Regions from separate parts of the Homo sapiens genome. Here all the other regions are linked to region 1. The links are contacts of gene promoters, found by promoter capture Hi-C in blood cells and fetal thymus (Javierre and others, 2016). All regions are on one chromosome and are shown on one strand. Each heading gives the region's core, a stretch centred on a gene start or on the middle of the fragment in contact. The rest is flanking DNA. Distances are from core to core; before and after follow the strand shown. Region 1 holds the start of G0S2 (G0/G1 switch 2). Region 2 overlaps HSD11B1 (hydroxysteroid 11-beta dehydrogenase 1). Region 3 overlaps HSD11B1 (hydroxysteroid 11-beta dehydrogenase 1).

Region 1 (4,742 bases), core at 184-2,683:
ATTCAAAAACTAAAATATTTGATCCCTGAGACAGCCTTTTCCCCCGACCCGCCCTTCAGGGCTCAGTCCGACCGACTGCAAAGGCTGTTGCAAGATTGCATCACTGACCTTTGCAATTTTCTGGCCAGTTTGATTTCCCCTTCTTTCCCCTGCCCCCTCCCTTTCTCTGCTTAAAGGCCTTTGGCCAATTTGCCTCTCCTTTTCCCCAAGTTTGCTAACCCTTTGGCCAATTTGCCTCTCTTTTTCCCCAAGTTTGCTAACTCTAGCATATCCATAACCAAAGCCAAACTAGAACGCTCCCTCAGCCCCAGGTGATTACAGCTAACCCTGGTCAAAATCAATCCTACATCTTCACACGTCCAAGAGTACTCACACTCTGGATTCTTACCTAAGCTGTCTACTACACGCCCTTCTGCCCACAAACTGCTTCAAAGCTGAAGTTGAGCTGGAGCAGTGAAGTTGTACCCCCAAACCCAGGAGGGTGGCAGAGAATTATTGAGGAGAGCATGAAATACTTCCATTCTAAAATGGCAGATGAACTTCTACCAACAGCCCCTTCCATACTTGACCCCCTACCCCCAAGCTCCCAACTCCACTTCTCAAGTGGAAGTGAGAACAATTTGAATTTGAAGGCTCTTCCCTGATACACGGAAGTACATAAGGAAACAGCTCGCAGGCAAAGAGACTAATCTCTCTCTCTTTCTCTCTCTCTCTCTCTCTCTCTCTCTCTCTCACACACACACACACACACACACACACACCTCTGTGCATAAAAGCACCATCAATGAATAGTTTTCTATCAACTGACTCTAGTTATACATGCATGTACCTCTAAATAAAACCAACCAGGCAGGAAAGAAACAATATTAGCACATATTGCTTTATCCAAGCGTAACCTGTTCTGTCCTGTTACCCAGATCCTTCCCCCTTGCCTTCTCCTCTCTGATCCATTGCCACACACGTGGGAAGGTGACAACCCTTCCGAATAAAAATGAAAGCTTTCTTCTTTAGATGGAACCCCCAAATTCCCTCATTATTTATAATGTCAGGCTGTCCTGGACAAGGGAAGCTGTGCACCCGCTGACACCAGTAAGAAGGTTGCCGCCATGTCAGAGATGTCCGCGGACACCTCCCTGGGCTCCGGGTCCTCCCCTGCGCTCGCCTGGAGTGGGACCTTCGCGTGCACACTGGCCTTCCCACGCGCCCCGCTGCGATGGCACCCGCGCCGGGCCCCCTAGCTCACACAGTCGGAGCGTGCTCAGCGCGTGGCCACCTCCTGCCAGGTCCCAGCCGGGTTCCACCCCCTCCTTTTCCCCTCCTCTTCTTCCTCCCCCTCCGAGTTCCCCTGGCTCTGACCGCGCTGGCCTGGGCCGGAGAGCCCAGGAGGCGTGTCTCAGAGAAAAGATATAAGCGGCCCCCGGACGCTAAAGCGGTGCCAGCGGCGGAGTCTCCAACTGGGAGAGCTGCAGCTGCCGAGAGGAGGAGAACGCTGAGGTCGGTCGGACCAACGGACGCGCTGACCGCTGCCAACTGCAGCTCGCGCTGCCTCCTGCTCGCGCCGTGCCACTAAGGTAGTCCGCCTTTCTATGAGCCCTCCCCAAGATTAGCTGGGTGCGGGGTGGTGGGAGCCGTTCTTTGGTGGCTGAAGCCCCTCTCCTGCTGCTCCTCCTGCAGGTCATTCCCGCCTCCGAGAGCCCAGAGCCGAGATGGAAACGGTCCAGGAGCTGATCCCCCTGGCCAAGGAGATGATGGCCCAGAAGCGCAAGGGGAAGATGGTGAAGCTGTACGTGCTGGGCAGCGTGCTGGCCCTCTTCGGCGTGGTGCTCGGCCTGATGGAGACTGTGTGCAGCCCCTTCACGGCCGCCAGACGTCTGCGGGACCAGGAGGCAGCCGTGGCGGAGCTGCAGGCCGCCCTGGAGCGACAGGCTCTCCAGAAGCAAGCCCTGCAGGAGAAAGGCAAGCAGCAGGACACGGTCCTCGGCGGCCGGGCCCTGTCCAACCGGCAGCACGCCTCCTAGGAACTGTGGGAGACCAGCGGAGTGGGAGGGAGACGCAGTAGACAGAGACAGACCGAGAGAGGAATGGAGAGACAGAGGGGGCGCGCGCACAGGAGCCTGACTCCGCTGGGAGAGTGCAGGAGCACGTGCTGTTTTTTATTTGGACTTAACTTCAGAGAAACCGCTGACATCTAGAACTGACCTACCACAAGCATCCACCAAAGGAGTTTGGGATTGAGTTTTGCTGCTGTGCAGCACTGCATTGTCATGACATTTCCAACACTGTGTGAATTATCTAAATGCGTCTACCATTTTGCACTAGGGAGGAAGGATAAATGCTTTTTATGTTATTATTATTAATTATTACAATGACCACCATTTTGCATTTTGAAATAAAAAAACTTTTTATACCATATCTCATGTAATTCCTGAGAGGTGTGGTGTCCTGGGGTGGGAAGCAGGGAGGGTGAGCAGGTGGGCGATGGTGATGGGTTCTTACCTGAGCACTGCAGAGGGAGCAGCTTCCTGAGGGTCAGACACTTGCTTCACACCTAGGAACTGTGTAATAAGTTACTACATGCATATAAGTCTGTTGAGGACTTGTTTTTCCTTCTTGTTAGGGGTGGGAAGAGAGAAAATTTTATAACTTCCGTGAGATTTAGCATTTTAACATCAAAAGGTAGATCAACTTCTGAGCTACAGTGAGTAGGAGATAACTGATTAATTCTAAGGCAGAAAAGCTCTTTGTTCCTTACACCTGTGCACCAGAGGTTCCCATGGCTGATACCTTTTTCTTCCCAACTATATTTTAGACAGACAGACAGAGAGAAGGAAAGAAAATGAAGGAGGGAGGTCTGGAGGTGAAGGGAAGGAAAGAAAGGAAAAACTATCTACCTGGCAGGAAAAGAGATAAGCTCCCAAGAACACCAAAGCAGATGATGAGTCTAGCTCTACCCAGCCTTCCTCCCCACGAATCCAGATCATAGTAAGAAACTCTGGGCTAGAAAGAGAAAAAAACCGGTTGTTACATATCTGAGTCCTCCTCCTCCAGTGTACAGAGCTTCATCTGTAGTAATAGCTAATTCAGTGACTCTATAGGGCTCAGCAAAACAAATTTTAAACTTTAAAGAAGTAGCCAGGAGCCAGAGGCATGGCCTTGATGCTAGTCTCCTCACATTTTTCATGTCACCTGTCCTAATCAGGTACTGACACTTTACTCCTTTCATCAACAGCTATGCATTTTTGCCAAACATATCACTGGCTCACACCATTGCCTCTGCTCAGACTCTCTCCTTCGTCCAATGCCCTACACACATCTCCATTTCATTTCTGCCAACTCAATTCCTACCAAGTGTTCCTGGCCCTGATCAAAAGCCATCTCTTTCTGAAATCTATTCTTATCACTCCCAAAGGAAAAAAGCAATCAGAATGTGGTAAGATTAATCAAGGAAAAGAAACATATTTGGAGTTTTAAAGGAAAAGAATGTCAGTGGCACCATGGCTCTCCCAGTTTCCAAAATGGGAAATTCAGCCCTATACCAAGGCAGAGCCTCACTTTCAATGTCCAAGAAACTTCCTAGGAACTGACTCAATTTTATCCTTCCTGCTGGTCTTCCAAAATGCCTCTTTTATTAATTACTCCTTTACCCATTCAGTTACCACCTTGTCTGGCTCTCAACCGCTCAAGCCACCCCCTGCACCTTCTAGCACATTCACCCTAAACAATCCCTTGTCAGACTGTCTTCCTTTAATATCTTTCATTCTGCTGCTCCTGAACTCAAAAACATCTGAGACTAAAACTCTTATGCCAGGTTTCAGTGCCTCTGTGATGTGCTTCCATCACAGCTGGCCGTCTTGCCTGATTTGTCAGGGTGCCTAGCATGAACCCTGGTCCTTGCCTGTTTCCTTCTGGTTTTCTGCACCTTCATTTACATTACTCTTCCAACCCGAATTTCCAACCCGAATGTCCTCCCACCCACTACCTCCACATCTTCTGAAACCACATACCTCAAATTCTCCAAGGAAGGTATGATTTCAAATACAGGTATTTTGCCCATTGTCAAAATACATGTAAAATTGTGTGCTCTGATTTTTGAGATGGAGTCTTGCTCTGTCACCAGGCTGGAGTGCAGTGGCACAATCTTGGCTCACTGCAACCTCTGCCTCCTGGGTTCAAGCGATTCCACTGCCTCAGCCTCCCGAGTAGCTGGGACTACAGGCGTGTACCACCATGCCCAGCTAATTTTTTGTATTTTGGTAGAGATGGGGTTTCACCATGTTGGCCAGGATGGTCTCAATCTCCTGACCTCATGATCCGCCTGCCTCAGCCTCCCAAAGTACTGGGATTACATGATTTTTTATTTAGAGGGTAACGCCTATGTTTTGAAAGGTTGCCTATACATAAAAAAATAAAGTTCCCTAAATATATAAGTATGCCTATATGTTTTTGTGTAGAAGGAAATTCCCCATGCCTATTTATATTCAAATTACCCAACCCAATCAAATCCGAGCTATTGAAATCTCTGTTCTCACTGGTCTTCTCAATTCTCTGAGTTCTTATAGGCCGTACAGCCTGAATCTCATACCACATCACTCAGTAATGGGCTTTTTTTCTTCCAGTTGTTCTGTGGGCTTGGTCATGTCTCTTACAGTATAATCTTCTTGAAGTAAAGGACCATGTCTTCTTCAGTGTTCACAGAAATCATTAGGTCCTAGGCAAATAGTAGGTTCTTAATAAATACTTGA
Region 2 (4,353 bases), core at 200-2,699, 33 kb after region 1:
TTGGGGTCACCAAGAGCTTTTGGGAGGAGAATGGGAAAGGTATCAACCCCAGATGATTTCTTAATATAGCCATCTCTTGCAGGAGGACTAGACATGCTCATTCTCAACCACATCACCAACACTTCTTTGAATCTTTTTCATGATGATATTCACCATGTGCGCAAAAGCATGGAAGTCAACTTCCTCAGTTACGTGGTCCTGACTGTAGCTGCCTTGCCCATGCTGAAGCAGAGCAATGGAAGCATTGTTGTCGTCTCCTCTCTGGCTGGTAAGTGGGACAGGGACATATGTGGAAGGTAGAAGAAAAAAAAAAATGCCAGGGATGATGCCAGGCTCTGAAGTAGACATAAATTTTTATCAGTTTCCATGCAGAGAAGTAATGAGGGATTGGTCAAGGTAAGTGGGCTACAAAATTCTTTTAAGTAACAGAGAAAAAGCAGTAGCTCTGAGTGCTCATTGGAAGACTGAATTGTTTTCTACAAAGTAAGGTCAAAGGGACTTGAGGGGCTGCTGGAGGTACAGCCTGTCCTGGTCCTAAGGGAGAGACCTAGTTACAATATTAACTTGAAGTTGAAATGTTCATAGTAATATTAAACAAAAGCTGATTAACAGCTTACTCATATGCATGAATGGGCAGATGTACTGATAAGAGACTTGTAGGGGGGTGATTTGTGGACTCAATGAGAGGCACGCATCCTGAGTAAAGGAGACACTGTTACAAACTAGTGACACCATAAAAAATGAAGGATTGGTCAAGGTAGATGGGCTACAAAATTCTTTTAAGTAGCAGAGAAAAAGCAGTAGTTCAGAGTGCCTATTGGAAGCCTGAATTGTTTTCTACAAAGGAAGGTTGAAGGGACTTGAGAGGCTGCTGGAGGTACAGCTTGTCCTGGTCCTAAGTGAGAGACCTAGTCACAATGGATAAAAAGGACTTTGCTTCCTCCATGACCAAAAGGTTGGTGAAGTTATGTAAATGTGAAGGTACAACTGAGAAGTTAACTGTTTTAACAACACACAGGTGTCTGATAAGTGGGCTAAGCTAAAGCTAAATAAAATGAACAACAAGAAAAAAAAAAAAGATGAACAGACCTGCCTATAGTGGGTGTATTCTCTAAAATTTGAACATGTTAACATGAAAAGATCAATTTAAACAACCAGCTGGGTAGGGAGGAAATGTGTCCAGAGAAATGGTCATGAAAAGATATCTGTGGGATCAAGAGAGGTCCCTGGTGTTCTGGATGGTGGTAGCATCAGAAGCCATCACCAGTAAAAAACCAGTGAGTTCCCAGCTTGGGACATTTCTAGGCCCATTTTTATCATAGATCCAGGAGACAAGTTCCACACATCTTTGTTGATTAGTCAGTTAGAAGGATGTGGCTGGAAAGTGCAAACACCAGGATCAAAATCCGCCATCTAAATGTTGTTCCTGGCAAAATAAAAACAAATAACCTAGAGGACTCTGTAAACTGTTAAGCACTTCACAAACATTCTTATTGAAACTAATAGCACCATCTGTATCGTAAAGAGTTCTCCTTTCTGGCCCAGGGACGGCCTGCATAGTGATTGGATAAAGGGGCAGTGTGTCTGTGCTACCCGCCAAACAGTGTGATTGATATGCATCCCGGTGCTTCCCAGACAACACACACTCCCCACCCCTCCCCAGACACAGACTCTCTCTGGGCTGGAAGAAAGGGAGAGCTTCCAGATGCATACTGAGTGGGAGGGTGCTGGGCACATCCCCAATCCATCCCAGGGCATTGGACAAAATCCTCACATCAGTCATGATGTAGGTGGCTTTAATGATTTCAGCTGATTAAATAATACATTCACTCTAGGCAAAGGATGTATTTCACCTTTGACGAATGTAACTTTCTAGAATGTACCCATGATCTAAATGTGCTCAGAAGGACTAAGAATTACTGTTGAGCCCAAGGACGTGATGAAATTCTGATAATCTCTGTTTCCCCATATCTCCTACACTTATTGAATGACACTTGGTAATTTCCATGAACTCTGGGAGGTAGGAAATCTAGCTGGATGAGTATCTTTGGTGTTTATTGCTTGTGTAGCCAAAAGATTCCAGCTTTTTTGCCTTGAAACCTGTCTATGAACTTGCAAAGTACAGACACATTGCTGTCTTGCCGCAACTGAAGAATATTCTCTGCTTTATGATGTATTCTTTTAATCAGTCAGTAAACATGTTCATTAATCCTTCCTCTTTAAAATCTAAACTCTATAAATATGGGATGCTAAACATCAAGTTGATCTTAAGGTCAGCCAAACAGTACTGGGATGGAGTTTTAATCATTTCTTCTAGGGAATACCTTAAGTTGTTTATTGAGTTTCAGTGATAAAGAATTGTTTTTTCTCCACAATGCATTTCTGGGTATTGCATTACATGGGAATACTATACTTCTAATATGTTCCTTAAAGGCTTGGTTACCTCTGTAGCATTAACAGAGACAATACTGCTGCTTCTGGGAACCTCCTTGTAGTCCACATCTATCCACTATTCACCACCTTTTCTTGGCACCTATTGAGCAAGTTTCTTGTATGTGTAACATCCCGTTACATTGATTAGCCTCCTCTCCTTCCACCACTTGCTAGTTAGGATGTAAGTTCAGCTACTGTAACGAAGACCCGAATTTACAATGGCTTAAGCAAATCTAAATTTATTTATCTCACACAAAACACCCTGGAAAGGCAGTCCAGGGCTGATATGGTAGTTCTGTCCTATGAGGCTGTCCAGGAGGCCTTCTATCTCAGAACCACCATTCCTAGAGTGCTTGTTTACACCTGCATGTCCAAGATGGCTCATTGGCATGTCTGAATTCTAACTCAAGAAAATGAAAAAAGAAGGATACCACCTGGAAGGTGTACACTTTTCTTCTGCCACAGCTGGCTGCAATTGTTATCTTTATTCAAAGGGAACATGTGTCCAACTAAAAATCAGAAGTTCTATTTGTGTAAAAGACACTGATATTGATAAACAACTAGCAATCTCTCCCACATCACCCATGCTAAAAAACACATAAGACTAGAAAAAAGTATACCCTCCAGGCCATCCCACATGTGAAACACACACACACACACACACACACACACACACACACAAAAGACTCATTCCCTCTCACATTCAAGGTCCATCACAAAAAACAAAGTCCTTCCATCCGGCAGTGCGTGCAGGGGACAGTGGGGTAGGAGAAAGAATGGAAAGAGAATACCTAAATAGCATTTGTGAAACAAACCAAAGTAGAAATATTAATACTTGAATATGACTAAAAAAAATCACTGGAGTGGGCAGAGAACATTTGAAAACATCTGGAAAAAAGTTTATCTGACATTAGTCAAAATAGGTCATCTTAGGTTCAATATTAGAAAAGTAAAGTTGGTTTCATTTTCGGGCTCCTGGGCTTGGTGAATCCCATCACTGTGGTGTGTGTCATCAGTTGCACACATGGCAGCTAGAACTGAGCATCTAAGGCCATTTCTCCACCTGCTTTATGCCCCTGAGAGGAATCACGGACAAACCCTGTCTTCCTCTGCTCCTTTCTCCTCTCAAAATCTACTTAGCCCCCTACCTCCTATGAAGTCTTTTTCAGAACTCACCAGAGCCATTTCAATGTTTCTTCTTTGTCTTTATCTACTATATTTTGGTAAGTTAACTTTAGAAATCCAACTTCCTCATCATTTCTCTTTTTTGGGTTTATTGGTAATCCAAATACTACTAATACTACTCATAACTACTAATAACACAAATGTTAAACATACTCGGCAAGCATACGTGTAGGGATAGTAATCCTTCTGGATCAAGGAAAATGCAAGGTATATTTTGAAGTGAAACTGGACATCACAAAAGACTCAGTTGCTTTAAATATTCAAAATGAAAATAGATCAGAAGGAATAAAAGAACCTTGTCAATAACCTTTGAATCAGACTTCTCTTGAGAAGCTCCATAAGTGTCTCCAGTTAACTATTCACTTTTCTCCAAGTAAATCTTCTTAAAAAATCAACTTTCCCTATATATAGATAGTCTTATTCAAATGTATTCCTTTCCTGTTTTACTCATTCGCAGCATTGTTTCATACTGTTTTTTAATGTACGTGTGCAGTCTTTCAGGCACTTTGAGTTGAGTTGACTAGCCGGGGGCAAACATTCATAAGACAGTGCTCTGTGGGAAAACTCAAACCAACAGATGAAGTCACTTGCTGGATCTTAACCTATTTGTCAGTGGAGGTCTGCCTGTGTGGTCTAAATCTATTTCAAAAATTCAACATTATGAAGTGGGGGGAGAAAAACAGGTTTTTCAACTACACATATCAACTAACAGGACTTGGAAGACCTATAATGATG
Region 3 (4,680 bases), core at 3-2,502, 53 kb after region 1:
TGTGAACGTGACCTTAAGTGGACACATAGAAAGTCCTTGAGGATGTAACTAAGATCTCAAGATGAAATCATTCCCGATTATCTGAGAGGCCCTGAATCCAATGACAAGTAACCTTATATGAAGAGTAAAAGACACAGACAGAAGAGAAGAAAGTGATGTGAAGATGGAGGCAGAGACTGGAGTTGCCAGCACAACTCAGCTCCAACTGCCAGCAGACATTAGAAGCTAGAAGAGAAAAAAGAAGGATTCCCTGCTATAGGTTTTGGGGGGAGCATGGCTGTGCTGATAACTTGGTTTTGGACTTCTGGATTCCAGTTCTGTAAGAGAACACATTTCTGTAGTCTTACGCTACCAAGTTTGTGGTAATTTGTTATGGCAGCCCAGGGAAATGAATACAAAGGGACTAGGAGTGACTAGCCCTGTTTATTTATGGGTATCCTCATCTGTCAGCTTAGAAGTGAAAATAATACTGCTATTCATAAATTTTGCCTATTTTGGACTCGACTATCAAAAGAGAGAGAATCCTCACCAATGCAGAAAGAACTGGATTTAACACATGGCTCCTGGAAAACACTCATATAAAGAACAGTGCCTTCTGTAGAGGAAGTACCACCTAGTGTTCAAGAGTGTGGGCCACTAGAGTCAAATTTGAATCCTGGTTTGAATCCTGCTTCTCCCACTCATTAACCTTGAAACTTTGAGCATTTATCCTTTAGATTCTACACTGGCACATAAGAGCTAAATAAATGTTAGTTCCTATTTAGCTCAATTTCAGAGGTTATTGTGTTTGCTCCATATGCTTGCTTATTTTTGCAGAATACTTGTCTCCGCTTACTTATCCCTCTCCATGGCTGAAATGGCTACCCCAGTCCCAACCTTACATGACCTTTTCATTCAAAATCCAACAGCAGCAATCAGAATCTTTTGGTCACTTATTTCAATTTATTGAAAGAGAGACCACGATGTGTGTTCAAGCCAGTGTGCATATTCGTGATAACTGGGCCAACCTTCCATGGCTAGAAAGATAAAGGCTCTTTGAAGGGGATGAGGGCAGGAAGTCCATGGCAAGCATTTCTAGTACACTGTAGCTTTTCACATTTTATATATTCCAACCTATTTATGTCTTCCTTCATAGTATATGCCTCCAATTTCATGCTTTAAAAAGTATCTCTAACTTTGAGATTAGAAATTCACCAATAGCTTATTTTAGTTTTTTACTTTCCACATATACTCTGTGATCTAATTTGAATTTGTTTATTAGAATGGCACTTTTTTCTCCAAGTAACTAGCTATTTGTCCCAACATGATTTTTTGAATAGCTCATACTTTTCTCACCAATTTGAATACTAATACTGCTAACAATAATAGCATTTTCTGAATGCTTTCTATGTGCCAGAGTTTGTGCTAAGTATATTACATGGGTTACTTCAGCTTGGTTATATTATTATCCACATATTACAGCTAAGAATTGGCATACTTGGGATTCACACCTGGGTCATCTGACTCTAGAGCTCATACTTTTAATTATTATGCTATTCTGATAAGTAATGTGGATCTATTTTTGTCTCAAACAATAAGGAAAATTATTGACATAACTGGAAGTCCAGATGTAGGGCAGGCTTCACAGTTGACTTGGCTGAAGCTCAGTGTCCCCGTGATTCTCTTGGCTCTGCTCTCTTCCATGTGTGGCTTCATCCTCAGGCTGACAATGAGATAGCTGCAGCAATTCCAGCCCCCATATCAATGCACAAAAAATGTGTTGGAAGAAAAAGAGGATTGCTACTCTCAGAAACTCTTCCAGAAAAACAATAACTTTTTGAGACACTCCAACAAAATTTTCTTCAAATCTCATTGGTCCAAAATGAGCCACATGGCCATTCCTGTATCAATCATGAGTAAGAAGAATGGGATAAAATAGATTACATAAGCTCATACCTGCAGTTAGGAATGATGTCAGCTTTCTTTTGGCACATGGGCTGCATAGAAGTGAGGATAACTATCAATAAGAAGTAAGTCCAGCTCTCAGATACAGAAAACCTAAAATAATAGTGGATTCAATAAGTTAGCATTTAGGCCAGGCATAGTGGCTCATGCCTGTAATCCCAATACTTTGGGAGGCCGAGGCAGGTGGATCACTTGAGATCAGGAGTTCAAGACCAGCCTGGCCAACATGGTGAAACCCTGTTTCTACTAAAAATACAAAAATTAGCCAGGTTTGGTAGCTCAAACCTGTAATCCCAGCTACTCGGGAGGTTGAGGCAGAAGAATCACTAGAACTTGGGAGGCAAAAGTTGCAGTGAGCCGAGATCATGCCATTGCACTCCAGCCTGGGCAACAGAGCAAGACTCTGCCTCGGAAAACACACACACACACACACACACACACACACAAGTAAGTTAAAATTTAAATCAGGTCTGAAGGTAGGCAGTATAGGGCCAGTATAGTATGGCAGCTCCATGGTCACCCAGGTTCCTTCCTTCTATCTAAACTATCTAAATGTTTTGCCATCCTCAACACGTGGCTTCTACCTCATGGTCCAAGATAGGTCTGGAGCCATAGCCATTACATCCACCTTCAGACACCAAGAAGGACAAAGGATTGGGAAGGAGAGACTGGCTTCTCCTTTTAAGGATGTGTCCCAACATTGAAACCAAAACTAAAGATACAACAAAAAAGAGAAAACCACAGGCCAATATCCCTGATGAACACAGATGCAAAAATCCTCAACAAAATACTAGCAAACAGAGCTCAACAACATTTTAAAGGATCATTCATTATGATCAAGTAGGATTCATCTTCAAGATGCAAGGATGGTTCAACATAAGCAAATCAATAAATGTGATACATCACATCAACAGAATCAAAGGCAAAAATATATAATCATTTCAGTAGATGATGAAAAAGCATTTGGTAAAATGCAATATCCCTTCATAATAAAAACCCTCAACAAATTGGGTATAGAAGGGATATACCTCAACATCATAAAGGCCATACATGACAAACCTATAGCTAATATCTTACTGAACTGGACAAAATTGAAAGCCTTTCCACCAAGATTTGGACCAAGACAATGATGCCAACTTCCACCACTTTTATTCAACGTAGTACTGGAAGTTCTAGCCAGAGCAATTAGACAAGAGAAAGAAATAAAGGGTATCCCAGTTGAAAAGAAAGAAGTCAAAAACCTCACTGCAACTTAACAAAGAGAGATTCCTTCTTCTCAGGTAATAGTTTAGGGCTGCTTTTGGTGGACTTACATGACGTCTTCAAGAATCCAAGGTCATTCCACATTTCTGTTCCACTATAATTAACATTAGCTTTTCCTAAAGTTCACAAACTGACTGCTACAATTCTAGCCATCATATCTGAGGTTCCTTAGGAGGAAAGGAGAAGGGCAAAATGTAAAAGTTGCATGCCACCTGAATCCATCTAATTTATTGGAAATCAATATCTTTCCTAGAAACCTCATCTGTTAGATTTCTCATTGACCAGAACTATTACGTTGCATGGCCTATTACGGCAAGAAAATCTCAGGGAGATGAGCATTTTAAAATGATTACGTTGCTGTCCTGAACAAAATCAGACTCTATTATTAAAGAAGGAGGAATGGATATTGGGTAGATAACACTATTTACTATCATTTTCCATCTAGAATATTTTTTGCTATATGACATAAAACAAAGAGTTAATTTTTTCCAATAAGTTAACCACCTTTCTCAGCATCTTTATTAAATAACCCATCCTTTCTTCATTGGTTTGACATACAACATATTATATTTGAAACATATAGAAATTCCAATTCCGATAACTGCAAGAGTGGCACCCGAAAGACCATCCTTCCCCAGATTACAACTATAAGCTTTTGACAAAATATCGACGACAACCATTGAAAGCACTGGAGATTAACCAAGAGCAGATAGAAAATGGAGGGTTATTGACACTTGGAAGAAGGAAATGACAGTAGGCGAGTTTCTCAATTGTATAGCTTTAGGCCTAAGGGCAACCCCAATCAGTGCCATATCTGGGATAGAAACCTGCCATCTTGCCAACATGAATAGCTAGAAGGAAGAGGTTGGGGTTACCGTAATAGCTGGAATGCAAAGGGGTTATGCTGGAAAGGAGAGTCACAGTGGAGAAACACTGAATCCTATACATAAGCTCTGTCCAAATCTCTAGTTGTTCTCTGAACAATGCATGGGCAATGCAGAAACCAAGCAGCCAAGTTAAGATTCAAATAATTGAACAGAGATTGCAGCTGATACTTATTACAAGAGACAGAGTTTCACCCAAGTTAACTGGCCACTTAAAAAAAAAAATCAACACTCTTTGGAGGAATGTGACAGAATCCAGGTACCCTGCAATGTATCATTCACGATATCCAGGATACAATACAAAATTAACACCCATACAAGAATAGTAAATATGACCCATACTTAGGAGGAAAGGAAATCAATAAAGATCAATCTTAAAATTACCCAAATTCTGGAATTAGCAGACAATGGATTTTAAAGTAGTTGCTATAACAATGCTCGGTAAAGACTATAGGGTCTCAGGTCACTTCTACTCTCCCCTCCTAAAAAGGGTATTAATAATAGTTTATCCTATTAGGCATATGTCCACATATCCTCCAAACAACTTGAGTGAGAATTAACCAGTCTGGTGAACATTTTTTTTAAAAAG

What was found. Contacts are between HindIII fragments. The CHiCAGO score rates a contact against its expected background, and 5 or more counts as called.
Region 2: a fragment that was not itself captured here is called in contact with the fragment with the promoter of G0S2 in region 1 in 1 of 17 cell types (neutrophils); the score reaches 5.2 in neutrophils.
Region 3: a contact is called between a fragment that was not itself captured here and the fragment with the promoter of G0S2 in region 1, in 1 of 17 cell types (neutrophils). The highest score is 7.0, in neutrophils.

What each region holds. Positions count from the first base shown.
Region 1 is chr1:209,673,979-209,678,720 of GRCh38, forward strand. It overlaps G0S2 (G0/G1 switch 2), which reads left to right and starts at 1,434. Exons shown (of 2, transcript NM_015714.4): 1 at 1,434-1,571; 2 at 1,675-2,412. The coding sequence starts at 1,707. The coding sequence ends at 2,018. The region is part of intron 1 of HSD11B1-AS1 (HSD11B1 antisense RNA 1); the gene reads right to left. RefSeq lists an enhancer at 1,546-2,394. The HindIII fragment of the contact is 4,554 bases long and covers 997-4,742 here.
Region 2 is chr1:209,706,861-209,711,213 of GRCh38, forward strand. It overlaps HSD11B1 (hydroxysteroid 11-beta dehydrogenase 1), which reads left to right. Exons shown (of 6, transcript NM_005525.4): 4 at 83-268. The region is part of intron 1 of HSD11B1-AS1 (HSD11B1 antisense RNA 1); the gene reads right to left. Among named protein-coding and RNA genes, the nearest start is that of HSD11B1, 4.2 kb to the left of the region's middle. The HindIII fragment of the contact is 7,813 bases long and covers 1-4,353 here.
Region 3 is chr1:209,727,005-209,731,684 of GRCh38, forward strand. All of the region lies in intron 4 of HSD11B1 (hydroxysteroid 11-beta dehydrogenase 1), which reads left to right. All of the region lies in intron 1 of HSD11B1-AS1 (HSD11B1 antisense RNA 1), which reads right to left. Among named protein-coding and RNA genes, the nearest start is that of HSD11B1-AS1, 13 kb to the right of the region's middle. The HindIII fragment of the contact is 5,210 bases long and covers 1-3,857 here.